Regions from separate parts of the Homo sapiens genome. Here region 1 is linked to region 2. Evidence: promoter capture Hi-C in 16 types of primary human blood cells and fetal thymus (Javierre and others, 2016). All regions are on one chromosome and are shown on one strand. Each heading gives the region's core, a stretch centred on a gene start or on the middle of the fragment in contact. The rest is flanking DNA. Distances are from core to core; before and after follow the strand shown.

What was found. The method cuts DNA at HindIII sites, captures the fragments that hold promoters and counts their contacts. A CHiCAGO score of 5 or more calls a contact.
Region 1: a contact is called between a fragment that was not itself captured here and the fragment with the promoter of EFNA5 in region 2, in 1 of 17 cell types (M1 macrophages). The highest score is 5.0, in M1 macrophages.

Annotation. Positions count from the first base shown.
Region 1 is chr5:106,261,456-106,267,541 of GRCh38, forward strand. No RefSeq gene overlaps it. Among named protein-coding and RNA genes, the nearest start is that of LINC01950, 750 kb to the right of the region's middle. The HindIII fragment of the contact is 4,265 bases long and covers 1-3,486 here.
Region 2 is chr5:107,666,591-107,672,369 of GRCh38, forward strand. EFNA5 (ephrin A5) reads right to left here and starts at 4,347. Exons shown (of 5, transcript NM_001962.3): 1 at 3,899-4,347. The coding sequence starts at 4,023. RefSeq lists enhancers at 3,500-3,579, 3,980-4,109, 4,820-4,959 and silencers at 3,740-3,809, 4,380-4,429. The HindIII fragment of the contact is 4,319 bases long and covers 3,354-5,779 here.

The sequences.
Region 1 (6,086 bases), core at 104-2,603, 1.4 Mb before region 2:
TATTCAAATATACAAGAGAAAAACAACGCCATAAAAAAGTGGGCAAAGGACACGAACAGACACCTCACAAAAGAAGACATATATGCAGTCAATAAGCATATAAAATATCTCAATATCATCCATCATGAGAGAAATGCAAATCAAAACCACAATTAGATACCATCTTACACCAGTCAGAATGGCTGTGACTAAAAAGTAAAAAAATAGCAGATGCTAGAGAGGTTGTGGAGAAAAGGGAACATTTAGTCACTGTTCACAGAAGTGCAAATTATTTCAACCACTGGGGAAAGTAGTATGGTGATCTCTTAAAGAGTGAAAAGCAAAACTACCATTTGACCCAGTAATTCCATTACTGGGTATATACCCAGAGGAATATAAATCATTCTACCATAAAGTCACATGCACACAAATGTTCATTGTAGCACTATTCACAATAGCAAAGACATGGAGTCAACCTAAGTGGCCATCAATGACAGATTGGATAAAGAAAATGTGGTACATATATACACGTGTAATACTATGCAGCCATAAAATAGAATGAGATGATGTCCTTTGTAGGAACATGGATGGAACTGGAGGCTATTATCCTTAGCAAACTAATGCAGGAACGGAAAACCAAATACTGCATGTTCTCACTTATATGTGGGAGCTAAATTATGAGAATCTTTGAACACAGAGATGGAAACAATAGACATTAGGGAACATTTGAACGTGGAGGTGGGAGGAAGGAGAGGAGCAGAAAAGATAACTATTTGGTACTGGGCCTAATTCCTCTGTGATGAAGTAATCAGTATGACAAATTCCCATGACATGAGTTTACCTGTGTAACATTTTCATGTGCACCACTGAACCTAAAATAAAAGTTAAAATTAAAAAAAAAACAAAGTTCATTAATAATAGTAAGCATTAAAATAGAGTGGAATAAATTTGGAAGTCCTTGTCTTTTGTTGCTAACATTTGCCATGGTCTAGAAATATATGTTGCACATGTACAGGAAACAGAGTTGTCATTTTAACATGGAGTAAAACCTGAAAGAAGATCCTGGGTAGTCCATGTCACTATTCTGATAGCCAACAGATTCCAGTCCCAGGTGGTGGGGAAAGACTGTGCCACTGCTGCCTCTTCCAGACACTGGAATAAATAACAGTTGTGCTGTGGCATTGTGAGAGATACATGAAGCAGCTAGTTAGTCACTAGTTAGAGTATTTGAGTAAATATGAGTGTTCAAAGGGAAAGTGTTTGAAAGATGTGTGGCAAAACAGAGGCTCAAAATTTCTGTTCAGGAACTTATATGCAAAAGGAACAAAGTAAGTATTGAGACATGTTACAACCCAGATGAACCTACACAACATTTATGTAGCAAAAAAAGCCAGATACAACAGACTATATTGTATAACTCCAATAATAGAAATATTCAAAACAGGCAAATTTATAGAGACATAATGTGGATTACCTGTTTTCTGGGTTTGGGATGGGAATTTAACTGGGAGTGACTGCAAATGGGAAGGCAGTTTGTTTTTCGTATAATGGAAATGTTCCAAAATTAGATCATGGTGGTGATTCCATAAACCTATAAATTTACTGAAACTCATTGAAAAATTTAAAATGAGTGAATTTCATGGTATGCAAATAATACCTCAATAAATCAGCTTAGTCTTATAATGGTTTTTTCATTTATTTTGTGTAATAATTGTACAACTTTTAATGTATTTTACCATCTAGCAACTGTATCTCATTTTGTAATAATTGCTTTCAGCAGCAATCAGCTAAAAAGGTGGGAGATGGGAGTAAGTACATGTTTAATGAAAAGTGAATGAATTTATTTCTCAAGAAAGTTGAAAATGAAAGTGTTACTTGAATCAATTATTTGTCAATATTTACCAACCCCATGGAGGCCATAGTAATGTCACTGAACATGAGAACTGGAATAGACAGATCTGCTGAAGACACATTAGCATCTACTTCAGAAGTTTAGAATTATTTTGAGAATAATATACTTGAAGTAAACATTTTAATACATAAATCTGCAGAGAGAGTTTATATATAGCTTTCTCTAAAGCATGAATTTTCAGTTTCACTATTCTAACAATATTATTTAGTTTAATCTCACATTTTCCTGTTCAGAATTGAAAAGTGAAGCAACAGGTGTTAATGCATTAATTCCTTTAGCAGAAAAAGAACTTTACTAACAATTAAATGATGTCATGTTTTCATCACTGTCAGCAGATGCTACAAACATAAAATAATTTCATTTCAAGATGATTTGATTTTGTTTCTGCCATTCATGGAATCTAAGTAATGCTTTTGGAAGTTCATTCTGTCCAAGGTGAAACATTTAACACCATAATAAATACTGATATAAATTTAGTTAAAAGTTAAACATAAAAATCATAATAAATGCTGATATACATTTAGTTAAAAGCTAAACATATGAATTGTTTCTGCTGTACACATGACTTTAACTAAATCTAAACAAGCCATAATATTCTACCAATCAAAATAAAATTTGAAAATAGTGTTTATATATGTATACCTTATACATATATATAGTGTATAAACATATAAATATAGAGAAAATAGTTTATATATATTTGTTAGTAACCATGTGGTAAAAGAGGTATAAAGTATACGGTTTATATCTAGTTAGAGTAACTGAACTACAAATTTTTGTGACAAAATTGAAGCTGAATAAATATTTCAGTATGACAGCATACACTTCCTTTACTTTCTGTCAGAAATCTAATTTTATAAATGTTTGAGCTTTCGAAGAATGAAGCTGAAATAGATGAAAAGAGAATAAACCTAGGTTGTTGAGAATGGGAAATCAGAGATCTCATTGAGAAGACATTTTGAAAGATTTCTTGGGGACTGGAAGTACACATTGATACATCAAAAACAAGGAACTTATTTTCTGGAAGTCAAAAAGGAAAATACTGGAGCAGAGATGGAATAAGTCTTCCCAAAAAAGACCGCATAAATTGTCAGGCATATATACAAAGATTAGGACCAGCTGGTAATAAAGGAAGAATGTTAACTGGAAGCACTATCTGTGGAAAAGCTACCTCAGCTATCACATTTTCTGCCTTCTGATACATGCAGAGCACTTGGCAACCCAGAATCTATACCCAGATATTAAACTGAGAGCTCTTCTCTAATAGAATTAGCTAATATTCCTGAGCAGACCTGAGTTGTTTAATGTGGCACATTGGGTCCTCTTTTGTATTCGTGTACCCCATATTCAAGAAATACCCATCACGGAGAGACATCTACAAAGAAAGTGCTGCTTCCATATATATTGTAAACAGAGGTAAAGAAAACTGCATTGACTATTATAATAATTAAACTAGGCTTTCATTCTTAACTATGGCTGGAAAAAAAAGAAAGATTTGCCAAATATTTGAGAAAAAAATTAAGCAAAAAGGAGAACAAGGTAAAGAAAACAACTGATCTTGGAGAAATCTATTTTATGGATAAAAGAAATTAAAAAGCTTTGAAAGTAGTATCTTGAACAAGACAAATTAAAAATATTACACTGAAATCAGAAAAGAAGTTTTTAAGAATTAAAAATATAATTTCCCAAATTATACACATACACATACACACACCAATAACACAGACATATAAGGTTCAAAGAAGTTTCCCGAAATACAGAACAAATAAACTAAAAGTCAACTGACATAAAGGAAAGATAAAAGCATAAAGTAGGATGTCTGCTATCAGACTAGAGTACTATAAAGAGACCAGAAAAAAGGGAAGAAGGAAATAATAAAATTAAAATCAAAAGAATTTGTCTCAGAGCTAAAGAAAAGCTAGAGTTTTCAAATTAGAGGATCCAACATGGTACATTCATAATAAGAAATACTTAGCAACAGAAAAGGACAGACTACCAATACAGACACAACATAGATGGATTTCAAATGCATTATGTCAGGCAAAAGAAGATGACATATTGCATGATTCCATTTATGTGTCATTCTGGAACAAGTAAATATATAAGGAGAGAGACACATCAGTGGTCACTAGGCGCTGAGGGAGAGAGAAGGGCATGAATAAAAGAGGGTATGAAAGAAAAGCCAAAACAAATTTCAAGCGATGTCATGGACTCTCCTGCAAACCAGTGTGATTTTGTGGCGATACCCGATCTCGTCTCATAAGTCAGTAATAACCAATAGTTGTCTGTGCTGGAAACTTAGTACCAATCATTAGGGGTCACTCAGTGATTCATTTGTGGCCAAAATGCAACTATGAGCTTGCCAAATAGAATTAAAATGCTGCAGGGTTATTTGTCAAGTGTTGTTTGACATGCAGTGACTGTGTTTTCTGTACAGAAACCATAAACATCAGGTATATTTCAACCAAATAAACTGAGGCCTGAGCCTATCTAACACACATTTATGGTAAAGCATGTAAAAGTAAGACAACCTTTGAACATATGTCATTTGTTCCCCAGGACTTCTTCAAATTATGTATCTATGAAAGTACGATTATAAAAGGTAAATGCCACAAATGTTTCCTGAGCATCATCTCAGTGAAGAAATGCACAACATGATAGGGTTTTAGATTTCTGGTTTTCTGGTCTATTGTGATGTTTGTCAGCTAAAAAGTTTCTTAACAGTTGGGTGCAAATGCTTAGGAAGCCAATGGCTCTATTACAAAACATTGGTACAAAAGAAAGTTGTTTGTCTTTCAAAGAAAATTCAATATTCAGGTTTTTTGCACATTTTAGCTAGCTCATGAGCAAATTGTAGGTAGGTGTTTGACTCATACCAATGAGTGACTAATAATGTAAAAAACAGTATTAAAAATTGAGGGAACTAAGTAACATAGTTAAAAGTAGCTGTAAGCCAGTAGGAAGGAATATCAAAGCCAAAGGAAAGGATACCTAGAACAGAATAATGAAGATTAAAGCATGACAACCACAGGTTTAATCGTCATTATTCTGTTCTTTATTCTGTTCTGTGGTGGAAGCTCCCAGCATCTCAGGCAGTCATCTACTTAGTGCAAAGTACTTAGGTGGAGTTAGCACCTTCCAAAGACTGCTTAAGTGAAGGAATGTGTGTGTATGTGTGTGTGTGTGTGTGTGTGTGTGTGTGTGTGTGTGTATGTTTGTATAGGGGGCTTAAGAACTCTCAGCTTGTGGTATCTGATAAGGAAAGTTTTGGGGGACAGTGATTTGAGTAAGGTATATTTTTCTTAATTATAATTGAGAGGCATGAACCTAAACATGAAACCTTTGGATTTTCAGTGATGTACTGGTTGTTAACAGTACCACATAAGGTCCTATCCATGAGGGTTCAAAACAATCTTTTTCTGGTGTTATGTCCAGAAAATTAAGTCTCTAGGTTTTAGATCAAGCAAAGGTTATTTAAAAGGATATTGAGAAAAGGCTGCTCATAATTAATGATTGATTAAACACTGTATTGTGTAAGTCCTTTGAAATATTTAATAATGTCAGTTTGTAATAAGGCAGAATCTAGAATTGGAGAGGATATTCAAAACACATCAGATATTCAGTTATCAGTTTAAAGGAAAAGCTACTAAAGACACCTGAAAGAGTTAACCTTTGCCATTAAAAACTATTATGTAAACTAGGGTATATCCATATAATGATAAACTCTGGCAATAGAAAGAAATAAACTATAGATACATACTGTAACATAGATGAATCTCAACATAATTATGCTGAGTGATAAAATCCAAACAAAAACATGGTACATAATATATAATCTCATTTTTATAAAATTATGAAAAACACAAACTAATCTATAGTGACAGATAGCAGACCAGTGGTTTCCTGGAGACAGAGGTAGAATATTAAGAGGTCGGAAGATGTTACCATGGGGAATAAGAAACTTCTGTAAATGATGAACTTGTTTATTTTGAGTTTGTGATGGTTTCATGAATATATACATATATGCAGACATTTCAAATTACATTCTTTAAATATGTGCTATGTATTGTACATTAATTATAGCATAATAAAGTTTTTAATAAAAAATTAAGATGACATCATCATCATTATCATATAATTTCGTTAAATGCAGGCATACTTTAGAGTTTGGTTCCAGAACTCCACAGTAAGCCAA
Region 2 (5,779 bases), core at 3,097-5,596:
AGTATAACCTTTTAAATTGATGATACTCAAACCTTAACAGAAGCAAAGCACCAGGTTGAGGACGACTGGTATTCCTAAAAGTGTGTTGGTCATATTTGCTGCTGTATTATTTGACTATTGCATCAATAATGCCAACCAGTAGGAGATATGTTTAATTACCCTAATATCATTTCAGCAAATAGTCAAAATAATCCAAGAAGAACTTAGAATACGCACATGATGTTTAAAAGTATATTCTTATTAGAAGCACCAAACTGCTTATGGCATACTTCAGATGAAGAGGCATGTTCTTAGTATTATGACTCTCTTTATAAGCATAGCTACTAAAGGAGAATGTAAATAAACTTTTATTACTGGAAGTCTTTTTAACTTTATTTAAAAGCTTTTTACATTCTTAAAGAAATTAAGGACAAATAGTTATATTCTTCTTGATGTGGATTTTCATTACTCAAAGTTACTTGGTGACATTCCAGTTTAGAATTCAGAATAATATTAAAAGGATGATTTGATTATTTACACTTTTAGGTAAAACTTATACAAGTTTTCAAATTTTGGAAATATAGAAGATCTATTTAGGCAAATGTTATCATATATTTCTATTCAAACTGATAGTTCTGAGTGGCTATTTCACAAATTTGTGCCAATTCAACACATAAAAAAATCAGTTTGGTCCCCTATCCAATAAATACTACCAACTAAAAGTTATCAGCATTTGAAAACTCAGTATCCACTTCTCAGAAGTGAATACCTGGGTACATAGATTGTAACAGTAAAACTATTCTGACAGCAAATAAATTTAATATTTTTTCCCGTGAAACTACATCTATAGATGCTCATTTATCAATGGAGAGGCAGTAATGAAACTCCATGTAGAAGATAAACTCCTACCAGATACACAAGTGACACAAGTTACACAGTAAGATACTGTACTTAATCCCTGTGATCAAGATACATTTAATTCTGATTTTACCTAAACATAATTTCAAATTGAATCTGTTAGTATAAGCTAAAGTAGATTTACTTCGTTTAGACACAGTGTACATTATCATCAGTTTAACGTGCCCACTGAACATATTATATTCTGAGGGAAAAATAAAAAAAATTATTTAAGTTGCAATTAAAGTCCTCTATTCTTTTTTCAAAAGATTGAAGTCTTACTAGTTTAGCAAAATTTTAACAGATAGGTTCTATATAAAGACACAAAGCATGGCTAGCTTACTTTATGAAATAACATACAGGAAAAGGAATTGCACAACAGTGAATTTATAAAATTTACTAAACCCGTGGAAATTTTCTGAAATATTTTCTTACTATTGTTTGTGGAAAACTGTTAGTTTTTATTTTTAAAATACTTATTTGGCATGTGGCCTCTTATATCCAAGTTGACTTTTCTTAATGCATCAAAAGAGCAACATCTTATTCAACACTTCAGAGATAAAACTGCCTACTTTTAAAATATTGTTTTTAAAGTAAGTTTTTAACTGTGATAACATACCAAGATAAATGTGTCCATAAATTCCTAAGAATAATAAGTGTTAGGGCTGTATCTCTTGGGGTTAAGAGGGGTACATCATTCTTTCTTTTGGCCATTATCAAACTGATAATGATCAAATAGAAAGGTAATTCTACAAACCTGAAGTTAGAATACCGATTTAGAAATACTCTTGGTATTTTAAAATTCTGCAGATTAACTTTGTCTGGGCAGGTTCAAAGCCTCCATGGCATCCTGAGCAGAAGAGTTTTCTGCAGGCAGGGCAGATCTATTAAAAAACATGACCTGTGACAAAAATCAATGTGCTAATCTCAAACCAAACAACAGTATCAAAAGCACAAAACAGAGATAACCTAAGATAAAATGTCCTCAAACTAACTCAGACTAGCTTGACAGGTTAAGAAGGGGGGTTAAAGTAGGGGTGTTGCTGGTTCTTTCCGTTTTAACCCAGGAAGACTGGAACACCCAAGTATCCAAATAAATGAATGCCATGAGAAAAAGATCACAATGTGGAGCTTGGTGTGGGAAAGAAAAGACAACCGAGAGCAAGATATCCCAAATTCAAAGAAACTATTTCAGTGTTGCTTTATTTAATAAGGTGCTAAAGTTCAGAGATACAAATTTCTGCTTCGTATATGCTGCCTAATAAAGCACAAACGGGGAAAAAAAACTAACCAACATAATGAGACTGGCTTTTAACACCATCACAACTGGAAAGCTTGCTCTATTTGTCTTGTCAGCTTTAATAAAAGGCATCTCTCCTCTGGCAGGATGGCTTCTTTTTCTCTTTTCCTAATAGTGGTAAGTGGCATGTCAAAGAAGAAATCGCTTCCCATTCCACCACCCACCTCCAGGAGACTCTTGTTTTTTGAACCAAACTTTCAGGAATATCTCCACTCCTGTTCAGCGGTTCATTTAGGACTTGGGCGGCTACCTGAGTAAGACTATCTTGGACTAGCGGGATAGGGGGAACTCCCTCCTGGTTCTGTAACCGGCGGACTGCTTGTGGGGAAATCTTCCCATCTTCATCTGCGCTGACATTATTCAAGCAGGGAATCCCTCTCTTGCCTGCATGCTGAGGGGAGGCTGGAGGCAGGCGGAGAGGGCCCGCAGGAGATAGAAAAAACTGGAGGCGCCCACCGATACCCTCTCTCCTGGAGCCCGGGGCGCGCACCAACTCTTAGGCTAACCCCTCGGCCTCCCGCCTCTCTCTTCCCAACTTCCACTCCAGCCCAGTGAAAAACCTGTGACTTTAGATGCAATCGGTACTATTAATAAATAGCACCTAGGAGGGCACCGAGACCGGCACACAGCTGGAAGCTAGCCTCTGTCCCAGAGAAAGCAGTGCGGTATGGGCCTAGCGGGGCCGACTTCTGTGCACAGGCCGGGAAGCAATAAAGGTTCGGAACTGCTCCAGACCCGGAGGACCCCGCCGGGCACTCTGGATAACCTCCCCACTCCACTTCCAGGGTCCGAAAACACGGGACGTCTGCGACTGGCCGGTGTCCAGCACGCGCACTAGGACCGCCCCCGGCGCCCACCTCTAGTCTCCCGCATACCCGGCGGGCTTCGGGACGCCTACAAATCGGTTCCAGGTAATCGCGCGCGTTCCTCCGGCAGCACATCGCCAGGCCGCGGGCGAAGGGCTCCCACCTCCTGGCTCGGCCAACTCTGGCAGCTTGTTCTGCACACATGACGTAACCCGGCATTAGATCAAACTTTCTGGCACCTTGAACCCACTGGGGTGGGTGGAGGGATGGAGAAGATGGGAGAATCCTCTCCACTGCCAGGCGCGCCGGGCCCAGACTGACTCAGGGGCCGAATGATTTCCTCGCAGTTGAAGAGGAAAATAAAAACCTAAAGCTTCCGCTTCCCAGCCCCCCTCACTTCCCCCAGCCCGTGCGCTCTCTCTGCGCGCACCGGGAAAAGAGAAGGGAAAATTAAAATTAAAAAAAAAAAAAAAAAAAAAAAAACTTTGGGGGATGTTTGGCGGGTTCTCTCCGCAGTCCCTGCGGACCCACGCTCCAGGAAGGAGCTCCCGGCTGCGCACACTGGGGGCTCCCCGCGCCGGGAACCGGATGCCAGCCAGATGCCGGGGCTGGGAAGCAGAGAAGTCCCTACTCCCCGGCTCCCGCCCTTTTCCGAGTCTCCCGGCGCCCCGCAGAAGCAGTTGGTCTAGGCAGCCCCGGGGACTCCCAGGGGTACCTGGCCTTTCCGCGGCGGCTTAACAAAGAGGGGCGCGACGCGAGCGCTTCCCGCCGACGCCTCAAGCCATCAGCGCCCGGGCGACGCAGGCTCCGAGGGTGCGCGCCGCCAGCGGTTGGTGCGCGCCGATCCCCGCCGCCGCTCCTTCCGCAGGGCCCCGAGGCCCGGGTAGCCCTGGCTCTCCGCCTGTTATCGGCTTACCTGGGGTTGCTGCTGTTCCAGTAGACAGCGTAGCGGTCGGCGACGGCCTTGGAGCCCGGGTCCTGGCTGAACACACACATCCAGAGCACCAGAAACACCAGCGTCAACATCTCCACGTGCAACATCACGCCTGGCCAGCGGCGGAGCCCCCGACGCGCCACTCCGGGGAGAGAGCGGGGATCCGGAGGGAGGGAGGCAGGCAAAGGGACAGAGAGAGAGCGGGCGCCAAATAAATATGAATAAATAAAAATGAAAGTGGGCGAGAAAGGAAAGAGGCGCCCACCAAGCTGGGGAGGGGTAGGAGAGCGAGAAGAAAAGAAGGCGGTGGGATGGGGGGTGATAAAGACAAACTCGCACCCCCACTGGAGGGTTCAGGAGGAAAAAGGAATCACAAGATGGAGAGAAGCGTGCGTGTGTGTGGTGGCGGCGGCGAGGGCGGGGGAAGAGGTGCCAAGCTGTGTCTCGGGCGGCGGCGGCAGGCCGGTCACCCCGGGAGAGGGAGGTGCGCGCCGGGCCGGGCGGCTGCAGCGCGGGTCGGGGCAGGCGGCGGCGCGCGCTGCACAGTCACCGGGAGTTGCGCGCCGCAGCCGCGGGGAGACATACACCGGCCCGCCGGGCCCGGCTCAGCGTCGGCGCAGCAGGCTACGCACGGCTCCGCCACCGCCCGGGGCCCTCGCACTGCGCCACGCTTCGCTCCAAGTTACTTTGGCGGCCGGTGGGAAACTGCAGGAGAAGGGCGACGTGCTGATAGAGGGCTTCGCGCTTGTGGTCCCGGGAGTCTGAGAACCCCTTTCCTCAGCCTCCTCTGTGCCTTAGCGGGGCGACCCCCAGAAATCTCAGAGGAGTCGTAAGTGCTGCGGTACCGGGCGGTGCGCCGAGAAGGGTGGGGATCCGGAGCCGCAACCCAGCCTTGTCGGTGTCCTGGAACTGGTTAAGCGGCAGCTGCGCCGGCTTTCGAAGCGGTCTTGCCTCGAAAACCTCAAAGAAAAGTTTGGCTCTTCGCGTCTTCCGGCAGGTCCCCCAGCAGAGTCGGAACGCGGCGGTAGCGGAAGAGGGCACCCCGGGGGCTGGCCGAGCCTCGGGGATTTCTCGCGCGTGCTTTCCTTGGCTGGGTGTGGGTGCACCACAGTGAATGAAGAGCAGAGGTTAAGACCAGCCGGCCTGGCAGAGCTGGGATTCCTAAACCTGCAAGACGACGCCAACCCAACTGTTCGGCTGGAGAGCGGGAGGGGAAACAATCACTTTCAAATGGATCCCTCCAACTCCTGGATGGGCCGATGTCAGTCTCCGATCGCCTTCCGAGAGGGAGACTGAGCCCCCACACGCGGTGCCAAGAGCCCGGGGTGAGCTCTCAGAAGTGTCCCTGCGACTCCAGCGGGTCCAAGCCTAGCAACTTGTAGAGATGCATCAATCAGTTTGAAATGGGAAAAGAGGAAAAAAAAAAAGCGCACGAGCGAGTGGCACCTCCCCGATGACTACATCAGAAAACCTTCCCGATCCTCCCGCAGCTGCTCCTCTTTCCCTCCTTAGGCACAGCAGCAACAGAGGTGAAAACCACAAACCGAATCCTAAAACCCCTACCCAGGCGGGAAAATAAATAAACTTGAGTGCAGCAGCAGCAGCACGAGCAGCCCAGGAGGAATTGAAACGACTGGCAAGAAGTGGAAAGGGTTTTGTAAAAGTCAGTTTTGCAAAAGAGGGGGAAAAAAAGAGAGCGAGAGAAAAAATGCTTTATGGGAAAAAAAATCTCCTCGGGCACGCCCCCTCGTTAATGACTTGCGTGGAAAGCCGACAGCGGCGGCGACCCAGTGGCAGCAGCCTCAGCAGAGCGCGAGGCCGCACGCGTGAACGTGGACGTGGGCGGGGGGATGGGGCTCCGCC